Regions from separate parts of the Homo sapiens genome. Here regions 2 and 3 are each linked to region 1. The links are contacts of gene promoters, found by promoter capture Hi-C in blood cells and fetal thymus (Javierre and others, 2016). All regions are on one chromosome and are shown on one strand. Each heading gives the region's core, a stretch centred on a gene start or on the middle of the fragment in contact. The rest is flanking DNA. Distances are from core to core; before and after follow the strand shown.

Region 1 (3,089 bases), core at 74-2,573:
CATTTGCTAGTCTTCCAACTTCCCACCTTAGCCCCTTTGCTCCTGCTGCACTATACATTTGGCATGGGCCCCTTCATGCTCATATGTGTTGCACCCACCCTTCAAGGTCAGGTCGAATGTCTCTTCCTCCCTCTAGAACTCCACCCTCAGGGGATGGAATCTTTCCTCTTTAAGCCTATGCGGTTCATTTGTGTCTGTCCTTAGAACATCCTAATTTATACATTTACTGTATTTTAATTCTCTCTTCCCCTGTATCAAACTCCATAAGGGTCGTACTCTACTATAGAAGCCTAAGAGAGAACATTACACATAGCAGGTGCTCAGTCTTTCTGGAACTCTTTTGCATGAGGCCTATAAAATTTTGGTTGAGGCAGGGCAGAACAGCTCACACCTGTAATCCCAGCACTGTGGGGAGGCCTAGGCTGGAGGATTGCTTGAGTGCAAGAGTTAGGGAACAGCCTGGGCAATACAGCAAGACCCCATCTCTACAAAAAATAAAATAAACAAAAAACAAACGTTGAGTTGGTAATTTATAAACGATGATGTCTACCTACCAGAGATTTTCATTAAAACTAAAATGCGAGATGGAATAGTGTCTGCGCTGTCTGGCATTCTGGCTTCAGGCTTCCCTGGTGAATAAATAGGAAGTAAGAACAGTAGCTGAATATTTCAAGTGTCTTTGATCTACAGCTGAAGAGTTTCTCAAACTATGCAGAAATGGGTGGAGAACAACTTTATTAAAGACGGGTCTGGTTTGGGCAACAAGGAGAAACAGCACCAATGACCTGAAATAAATCTTCATAGTTAAGGTTTCAATGCATGAGTAGTCATTTTGTTTTCAATTTAAACCACTAGTTTGGCCCTTGGGTAATTGCAAAGCATTCTCTTGTCAGCCTAAGCAGAAGAGAACTTTGTTAGCAGCAAGGGCTTATAAACTTTCAAGAAAGTGTCGCGATTCACTCCAAACTTTGCTAGTTTTTTCACTAGAAGCGGAGAGTCGGGGTGATGGGGGTTCAACTAGCTGGGGGAGGGACAGCATTCAAAAATTCTCCACCCCCGGCCGCAGGGCCAGGTCCCGCAGGAATCCCTCCCCCAGCCTGCGCCCTCCCCGCACCACGCGGCCACCCCGAGCCTGGGGACCGCCGAGGAGGGGCGCGCGGGAGTCCCACCTACCTGAGTGCCAGAAGCCTCTCGCCCAGGAGCGCCAGCGCGATCCCCAGCAAGCCCACAGCCACCAGCCGCCCCATGGCGCGGGAGCCGGGCGCGCTGCCTCGCTCCGGCCTGGCCAGCAGCTCCGTGGGCGGTGCCATCTTCCCGGCTCGATGGTGCCGGCCGCGCTCCGCCCCGTCCTCCGCCTAGGCCGAGTCCCTGCGTCGGGGCCGCGGAGGCTCCGCCCTGGGCCTGGCCCTGGTCTTTGTCCTCACAAACCTATTTCCCCAGATACCTTCGGGACGGCCCGGACACGCCTTACATTAGGCTCATGATGTGAAACTTTGAATTCCTTCACTTCCTTTTTCAAACAACCCACCCGAAACCCTCTAGCAGCCCGCATACCTTTCTCGTTTCCCTAGTCTTCAAACACATTTCTCACTCGCTATTCCAGTGAGAAACTTACATAGAAAGCAGCTTTTGGGGATGGGGGTCGGTGGCCAAGGGAGGGAAAGTAACGGGATGCGTCGTGTAAATATTTCACGTTGGAATCACTACTTTTTATAACAGGACGTAGTTGCGAATAAATAAACATCCTGTGCCTCGTAATACTTTTTTTTTTTTTTTTTAACAGGGTCTCGCTGTGTTGCCTAGGCTGGAGTACATTGGCACAATCATAGCTCACTGCAGTCTGGACCTCCCGGACTCAAGGGACCCTCCAGCCTCAGCCTCCTGAGTAGCTGGGACCGCAGGCACGTACCGTTACACCTAGCTAAGTGTGTGTAAGTTGTGTGTGTGTCTGTGTGTGTGTGTGTGGAGACCGAGTCTTGCTGTGTTGCCCAGGTTGGTCTCAAACTCCTGGACTCAAGCCATCCTCCTGCCTCAGCCTCCCAAAGTGCTAGAATTACAGGAATGAGCCACCATGCCCAGCCTCTATTAATACTTCCAGACTACAGACTTAAGGACTTAGACACGTCTTTTTCATCCAAACTCAAAGGGAAGAAGTGTAGTTTTTTTCTTTTCCGTTTTTACTCTAACAACCGTAACATGAAGGAATAATTTAAAATACAATTTTAAAAGTAAAATGAAATTTACCCATCAAGATTGATACCATTACAATAAATGAGTACATCTGAAATAAGCTTCTAATGGTTTTCGGTATTTAATTGCCACCCTACAATATGTAGGCAGAAATGGTCACACTTGACAATTTTCAACAAATATCAGTTTTATAAAGAACCAGTAAATAAAAGTGGATGCCAATTTCCCACCTGCCTCTCACCAAAAAAAAAAAAAAAAAAAAAAAGCACAAACACCTCTCTCCCTGTGTGTGTGTGTATCTCTGCTTCAGTCCTAAGGATATTGGATTATACTGGATGGTAGAAAGAGAAGTAAAAAGTTGTCCTTTGAAAGCCCATGAGGCATTACCTTTTTTGTGTCGTGGACCCTTCTGGCAGTGGTGAGCCTGTGGATAACTTCTTAGAATAATGTTTATAAATGCTTACAATAAAATGCATAAATTTTCTCTGTGCGGTTCATGAAAAAAAGAAAGAAGAAAAAAAAATTTTAAATAAATGAATAAAATGTATAGATTGCAAAGAAAATCAATTACATTGTAAGGAAAAAAAATAGCTGAGAGCAGTCTGAGCTTTGTGAGGTATGCAAAATTTATCAGGCCCAGAGCGACATGAGTATGGGACTTCAGTCACGCCCCAATACCCATGCCTGGGGACAGTTGTTTAAAGACATTTTGTTCCCGAGTAGCTGTCCCACCCATTATCTTCATATTCCTGGAATTTATGATACAAAGAACAAAGTATAACCAATCCACAGCTTATGTTATTTTAACGCAAGGAATTTAGGAACTGCCTCTTCCTTCCCCTTAAAAATCTATGTGTAACTGCTGCTAATCAGAGTGTATATTTAGGGAAACTTGAATC
Region 2 (3,233 bases), core at 422-2,921, 780 kb before region 1:
CAAGCATAAGAAATCCTGGAATTATTCTATCTTGCAGAAGAGGGTGAACATCCTAAAGATTAAATTAAAAGGCACTTCTAAAAAGTATAATTGTGTTTACCCAACTTCCTAGGGAAATGTCTTTGTTAAAAAGCTGCATTTCATTCATTCATATTCCGGATAGTGGGCATTTTCTAATAAAAAGTAAAATCTCAGTAAATGGGCTACAGTTTTGTTTATTCCTAGAAAGGCTCTCTTTTAAAGTGCGGTGTCTGCAACGTTGTTATGACAATAAGTCAAATTCTTATTGATATTCCAAGTATAAAATAATCCGTAGCAATGTTACTAAAATGTGCTCAATTTTGCTCTTCAAATATGAAAGCGTTTCATCTGTGTTTCAGAAACCTAACTCAGCTGTAGACAATTTGGTTTTCCCTTTTAACTTAAACTTGTTTTACTAAGATCATCAACAGATTGTCAGTTTCCCAAGCACCTGACACTGAGGCGCTTAGATGGGAATCCGCGTTAAGGTTTTATTTAGCATCCTTCCTCATCAGAATTTTAGCGTCTTATCAGCCACTGCAATTTTCCCTGACATAAAATATATATGTTCATAGTACAAATGCACGCAAATATTTGTGGCCGAATCTCGGCAACCCGCTGGAAAGGATTAAACGTGCGGTTGCCGTGACTAAACGCATTCATTCACCCTACAAGATTTAGGAAAATGTAACGTTGCAAGGGAAGCAAGGTCTCTGTGTAAACCTCGTAATCGCCACCAAAAGTCGGTAGCTGGGAGCCTTCAAAGCCCGCCAAACACACTGGAAGCATCCACAGCTGTTTTAAATTGGTTTTGGTTTCTGGAAATAGCGCACTCGGTACGGCAGCATCTCTGGCCTCCAGCCGGGGTTAACCCTGACCTGAACGCCCTGTTTAGCTCCCAGCATTTCATGATTCCGCTTCCCTGCTCCGTAAAACCGAAGAAAACCGAGATTTCCGTCACCGAGAAATGCACTTAGCAAGAGGGGGAAATTCGGTGTTTTAAATGTCACATTTTTGTGTTCTCTACCACTATCAAGAAAAGGAAAAAAGATGTGTTTGTGTAGCGGGGACGCAGCTTGACACCCATTTCCTTTGGCTCGCATCGCGGTCGCAGAGCCCAATCGCGGGGAAACGGGCCCCCCAGAAAAACAGGCAACGACCCCCAGCTCTTTGCTACAGGGATCGGGAGAGGACTACCCTGGGGCTGGGCGGGGAGGGGGATGTTGGGAACAGGAATTGGAGATGGAATTTCTGCGCCCGCAGAGCAGGGAGGGGCCCGCGGGGGCGCGGAGAGGAAAAAAAGGCCAGGGGTCAAGCCTGGGGAGAGAGAAGCTGGGCCGGGGAAATGGGGTACAGGGTGTACTGAAGGAGGGGTACGGTGGGGTCCGGGACAGAAAGAGAGGCTGGTGCCCAAAGGGCGCGCTCAGGCGCCCGGAACCCGAGCGGGGGAGGGGGAGGCGGCGGCCTGTTGGCCCCGGGACCTCCACGTCGCGCGCAGGCCACTAACCTGTCAGCAAGAATGTGCCAGTGGTCGCGGGGCTCATCCTGCGTGTCCCCCGACCCTGTCCCGTCCAAGCACAGGGGTCTCCCAGCTCCCACCACCGGGGCAATTGCATTCTTGGCCTGGCTAGGCCGTCCGTCCTCGATTCTCCCCTCCCCTCCCTTTCTTCTTCCCTCCCAGCTTGGCCAGTTCAGCATCAGCATCCCGCACCCCCTCGGTAATCCCGTACTCCCTCTAGCGGCGGGCCACTGCAGCGTGGCCACCGCCCCCACCCCCATCCCCCATCCCCGCACCCCCCTCCACCCCCTAGCCCGCGGAGCACGCTGGGATTTGGCGCCCCCCTCCTCGGTGCAACCTATATAAGGCTCACAGTCTGCGCTCCTGGTACACGCGCTTCAACTTCGGTTGGTGTGTGTCGAAGAAACCTGACTGCGCCCTGAGGAGAACAGCGGAGAAGGTCCACCGAGCCTGGCGAAAGGTCCGCTGAGCGGGCTGTCGTCCGGAGCCACTCCGGGCTGCGGAGCACCCAGTGGAGACCGCGCCTGGCTCAGGTGTGGGACCCCATCCTTCCTGTCTTCGCAGAGGAGTCCTCGCGTGGTGAGTATGCGGTGAGGACGTTTTTTTTTTAAAGATCACGTTCATTCCCCGTGCTTATCGGGAGCTGCGGGAGATGGAGTAGCACCCCAGAATGTCTCCACGCAAAACTTGTCACGCCTTCACTGGCTGTACCCCAAAACAAATGGGGAAACCAAGCCTTAAAGGCTTGGGTTTCCAGGACCAAGTCCAGATACGGGCTGTAGACAGAGATGAGCTGCGGACAGTGATGAGCTGCAGACGGTCAGGAGCTATAGATCGATTTGCAATTTGCTCTTCAAATGCGCTACCAAGTGCCATGCTTTACAAACAGATAAGCGCTTCAAATGCGCTACAAACTGGCGCTTCAGATGCGCTACAAGCACGCTTCACGCGGGCGACAAACTGATGGGAGCTACAACTGGCGCTTCATTGCGCTATAAACTGATGGGCGCTTTATGTGCCACAAACTGACGGATGGGCGCTTCAGTGGCGCTACAATCCAGAACGAGGAGCAGCGATATAGGAGCTGCAGACAGAAAACTGAATTGCGCTTTACATGCGCTGCAAAATCTGAGCTGCAGAAGAGTAGCACTACAAAAAACGCTACAAAAACGATGCGATTAGCCAGCCCGACAACAGCGCTTCATTGCGCTGCGAGGCACATGAACTGCAGAGGTACATGAGCTGCGGAACAATTCACACCTAAGATGCACTACAAAGTGGTAAGAGCTGCAGAGGTACAGGAGCTGCAGACCGTTTGCGCTACAAATAAAGCAGCCGTAGTGGGACATGAGCTGCGGAGTACAATTCCTCTGTTTTCTTGGAGCAGGACCCCACCCTTTCACCTTTTGGAATGGCTCCCACTCTATTTTTCTGCAGGACGGTTCTCGCATGATGGTGCTGGTAGACAAAATGGAGCCCCGGGCAAAAATTAGTGTTTAACATTCTGCCCACACCATTCCCGCTATAGCAGTGGAGTGGAGGGGCACTGATTGGAGTGGAAATGGGAATCTTTTGGTGATGGCAGAGCAGGCTGCCTGCCTACTTGTGCTTGATTGAAGTGGCGGTGTAGTTGTGGTGGCGCGAATCAGCGTCCAGCAACAGTTTGTGGAAACTGTGGGTTTGCTGAGTATGG
Region 3 (3,064 bases), core at 285-2,784, 960 kb before region 1:
TGCCTCCCTGGCTCAAGTGATCCTCCCACCTCATCCTCCTGAATAGCTGGAATCACAGGCACACACTGGCTAATTTTTTGTATTTCTGGTAGACATGAGGTTTCACCTTGTTGTCCAGGCTGGTCTCAAACTCCTGAGCTAGAGCAATCCACCTGTCTCGGCCTCCCAAAATCCTGGGACTACAGATGTGAGCCACTGTGCCCAGCCAATCATTACTTTTAAAATAATGTTTAGCAGAAGCAGCATCTTGATAGTCATCAACAGCAATATCAATAAATATTTTATGTGCTATAATATTTTTGGTTAGAAGTAAGATTAATAAAATAATTCAATTCTCAATAAAGGTCTTATTTAGATAAAATGTAGCAAGTAATTTAACTGTATTAGAGACCTTTTAAAAAGAACTGGGCCACTCAAATTGTCATTCCTTAATTTTTTTTTACATTCTAAGATAAAAATATAATAAACTAAATGCCAATAGTAGCTGATATATTAACAATGGAGCACAATATTAGTACAATAAAATTTTTTCTTTAATACATTACACATCACATATGTTGAGGTCCTTTCTATGCTGCACAAAGAAATCTAGCCTGCATTTACAATTTTAAATTATTATATTCTTGTGTAAATTTTATAGTTGATTTATAACTTGGGATTTATTTGATGTCAAGCCTTCTGGTCACAAATGAAACTCTAAATTGAAGCACCATAGAAGCATCTGATTAAAAAAATTACTCACTGCTTTGACGGAATTATATTACAGAAGTATATTGCAGCAAAAAGTAGGGATTTTCTTGTATGTTTTTCCAAATAATTGGGAAAACTCTGCTTGCAGCTATTTCAGAAATGCTCATATCAGAGCAGTTCTTGCCCAAGTTAACTATAAAATGCATGAAACAATAGTTTGACAACATTCAAGAGCACTTCCAGCAGACAGGACTTGAGAAGCAGCAGTCCGGGAGAGAAGGAAAACACACTGAAGTGAGATTCTGCCCTGTATTTCCCTTCAAGACATCTGCAAATTTGCATCTGAGAGAAACAGAGATTAAAAAGAAAGACAAACCTGGCTTACGACACTCTCACTGGGCTGAAGAAACAGAGTTTGGGGGTGAGGGCATGTAATAGAGTTAAAATTTGGGGAAGAAAACACATAAAAGTAAGCGTGAAATTCTGCATGCAATTTCCTTGCAAGGGGTGGCCATCCCCAAAACTGCATATACACAAAGCAAGACTCCTAAACATCTAGCAGAAAGTACCAGTATGCCAAAGAGCTAAGCAAAGATTTTAGCAGTATGGTAGTACCAAGGGCATATAGATTATAATTCAGGGCTCACAAAAGTAGAGGGGACCCAGGAAACACCCCCATGATTTCACATGAGACCATAAAAAGGTTATACCTTAGAAGTAAAAAATAAGGAATAAAGGCAAATTAAAACTAGACCAGTTCCATCACAGTATAGAATCCACTCTTGGAATCCACTCTTGACTAGATAAAAGTGACCTGTTATATCTCTATCTACTTGCCAAAATGAAATTAAATTATCTTTGGGGAAAGATATCGTCATCTAAGGCCTGTATAATTTTTCATACAGAATCTCTAGTATTCCATCAAATATTGTTAGGCAAGATAAGAAATTGGAACATATAACAAAAAACTAGGAAAGATTTGACAATGAAATGGAAGTAAAGATGACCCAAATAGTGGAGCTATCATTAGAGACCTCAAAATAACATTATGGCCAGGTGTTGCGGCTCATGCCTGTAATCCCAGTGCTTTGGGAGACTGAGGCAAAAGGATTGCTTGAGCCCAGGAGTTTGAGACTGGCCTGGGCAACATAGTGAGACTTTGTTTCTACAAACAATAATAAACTAATAATAATGTTTAATATGTTCATGAAAATTGAGAAAAGAATGGAGAATTCATAAGAAACAAGGAATCTACTAAATAAAATAAAGTGGAAATTGTAGAAGTTGAAAAGATAACTGAAATAAGAATCTAATACTTGGATTTAAAAGCAGATAAGGCAAATAATAAAAACATACATCTACATAAAGACATGTACGCAAATGTTAATAACAGCATTATTCAAAATAGCCCAAAACTGGTAGTAATCCAAATGCCCATCAGCTGATGAATGGATGAACACATGAGGTATAGGCACACAATAAAATACTATTCAGCAACGAAAAAGAGTAGACTGCTCATGTATTCAACAACATAGATGAACCTCAAAAAAATGTTAAGTGAAAGAAGACCGACACAAATGGCTATATAGTGTACCATTCTATTAACAGAAAATTTCTAGAAAAGGTAAACTTATACACACAGAAGTAGATCCACAGTTGCCTAGGGCTATGGGTGGGAGTGGAAATTAACAACAAATGGGCACAAATAAATTTTAGGGGGTGATGGAAATGTTCTAAAACAGAATTGAGGTAATTTTACACAAATACACAAATTTACCAAAATTTATCACATTGTACACTTATATTTGGTTAATTTATGCTATGTAAAATTATAAATTATATCTCAATATACGTTTTTTTAACTTTAGCTGACTCCTAAATGATGCACTTGCCAGACAAAATCGAGATAAAGATTCTTAACAATTAACTGTGATTTTAGCTGCCACACAAGAGACAGCGTTTGATGCTTGAGTCCACCCGAGTTTAATATCTGAAAAAAAAATCAGAACTTTTGGAAGACTATAAAAGAATGCACAATATAACCCTGACAGTGCCCAGGGTATAGAAATTACTGAATATATTTTTAAAACAGGAAGTATTACTTTTCTCGACAGAAAAGATAGAATATTGTTATACTAATGTTGGTAAATATATACACCAACCCTGGATGATACAGAAGTTGGAATTAGTAGGCAAAGATTTTAAAGTAGCTGTTATAACTATGGTCAGTGAAATAAGGAAAAATATGTTAGCAATAAATAAAATAATAGGAAATCTCAGTAAAGATAAATAAAATATGAAATATTTTGAAATATTTATTAAAATAAGCTAACGAATTCTAAAACTAAAAAATAAAATGTCTGAAATTGTAAAA

What was found. Contacts are between HindIII fragments. The CHiCAGO score rates a contact against its expected background, and 5 or more counts as called.
Region 2: a contact is called between the fragment with the promoter of SGCE here and the fragment with the promoter of PON2 in region 1, in 1 of 17 cell types (naive B cells). The highest score is 7.7, in naive B cells.
Region 3: a contact is called between a fragment that was not itself captured here and the fragment with the promoter of PON2 in region 1, in 2 of 17 cell types (M0 macrophages and total CD4 T cells). The highest score is 5.8, in M0 macrophages.

Annotation. Positions count from the first base shown.
Region 1 is chr7:95,433,705-95,436,793 of GRCh38, forward strand. It overlaps PON2 (paraoxonase 2), which reads right to left and starts at 1,324. Exons shown (of 9, transcript NM_000305.3): 1 at 1,174-1,324. The coding sequence starts at 1,247. RefSeq lists a silencer at 1,007-1,436 and an enhancer at 1,111-1,681. The HindIII fragment of the contact is 3,363 bases long and covers 1-2,289 here.
Region 2 is chr7:94,654,462-94,657,694 of GRCh38, forward strand. SGCE (sarcoglycan epsilon) reads right to left here and starts at 1,672. Exons shown (of 11, transcript NM_003919.3): 1 at 1,529-1,672. The coding sequence starts at 1,637. PEG10 (paternally expressed 10) reads left to right here and starts at 1,864. Exons shown (of 2, transcript NM_001172437.2): 1 at 1,864-2,130. The coding sequence starts at 2,126. RefSeq lists enhancers at 1,020-1,797, 3,067-3,116. The HindIII fragment of the contact is 19,954 bases long and covers 1-3,233 here.
Region 3 is chr7:94,468,579-94,471,642 of GRCh38, forward strand. No RefSeq gene overlaps it. Among named protein-coding and RNA genes, the nearest start is that of CASD1, 40 kb to the right of the region's middle. The HindIII fragment of the contact is 3,609 bases long and covers 1-3,064 here.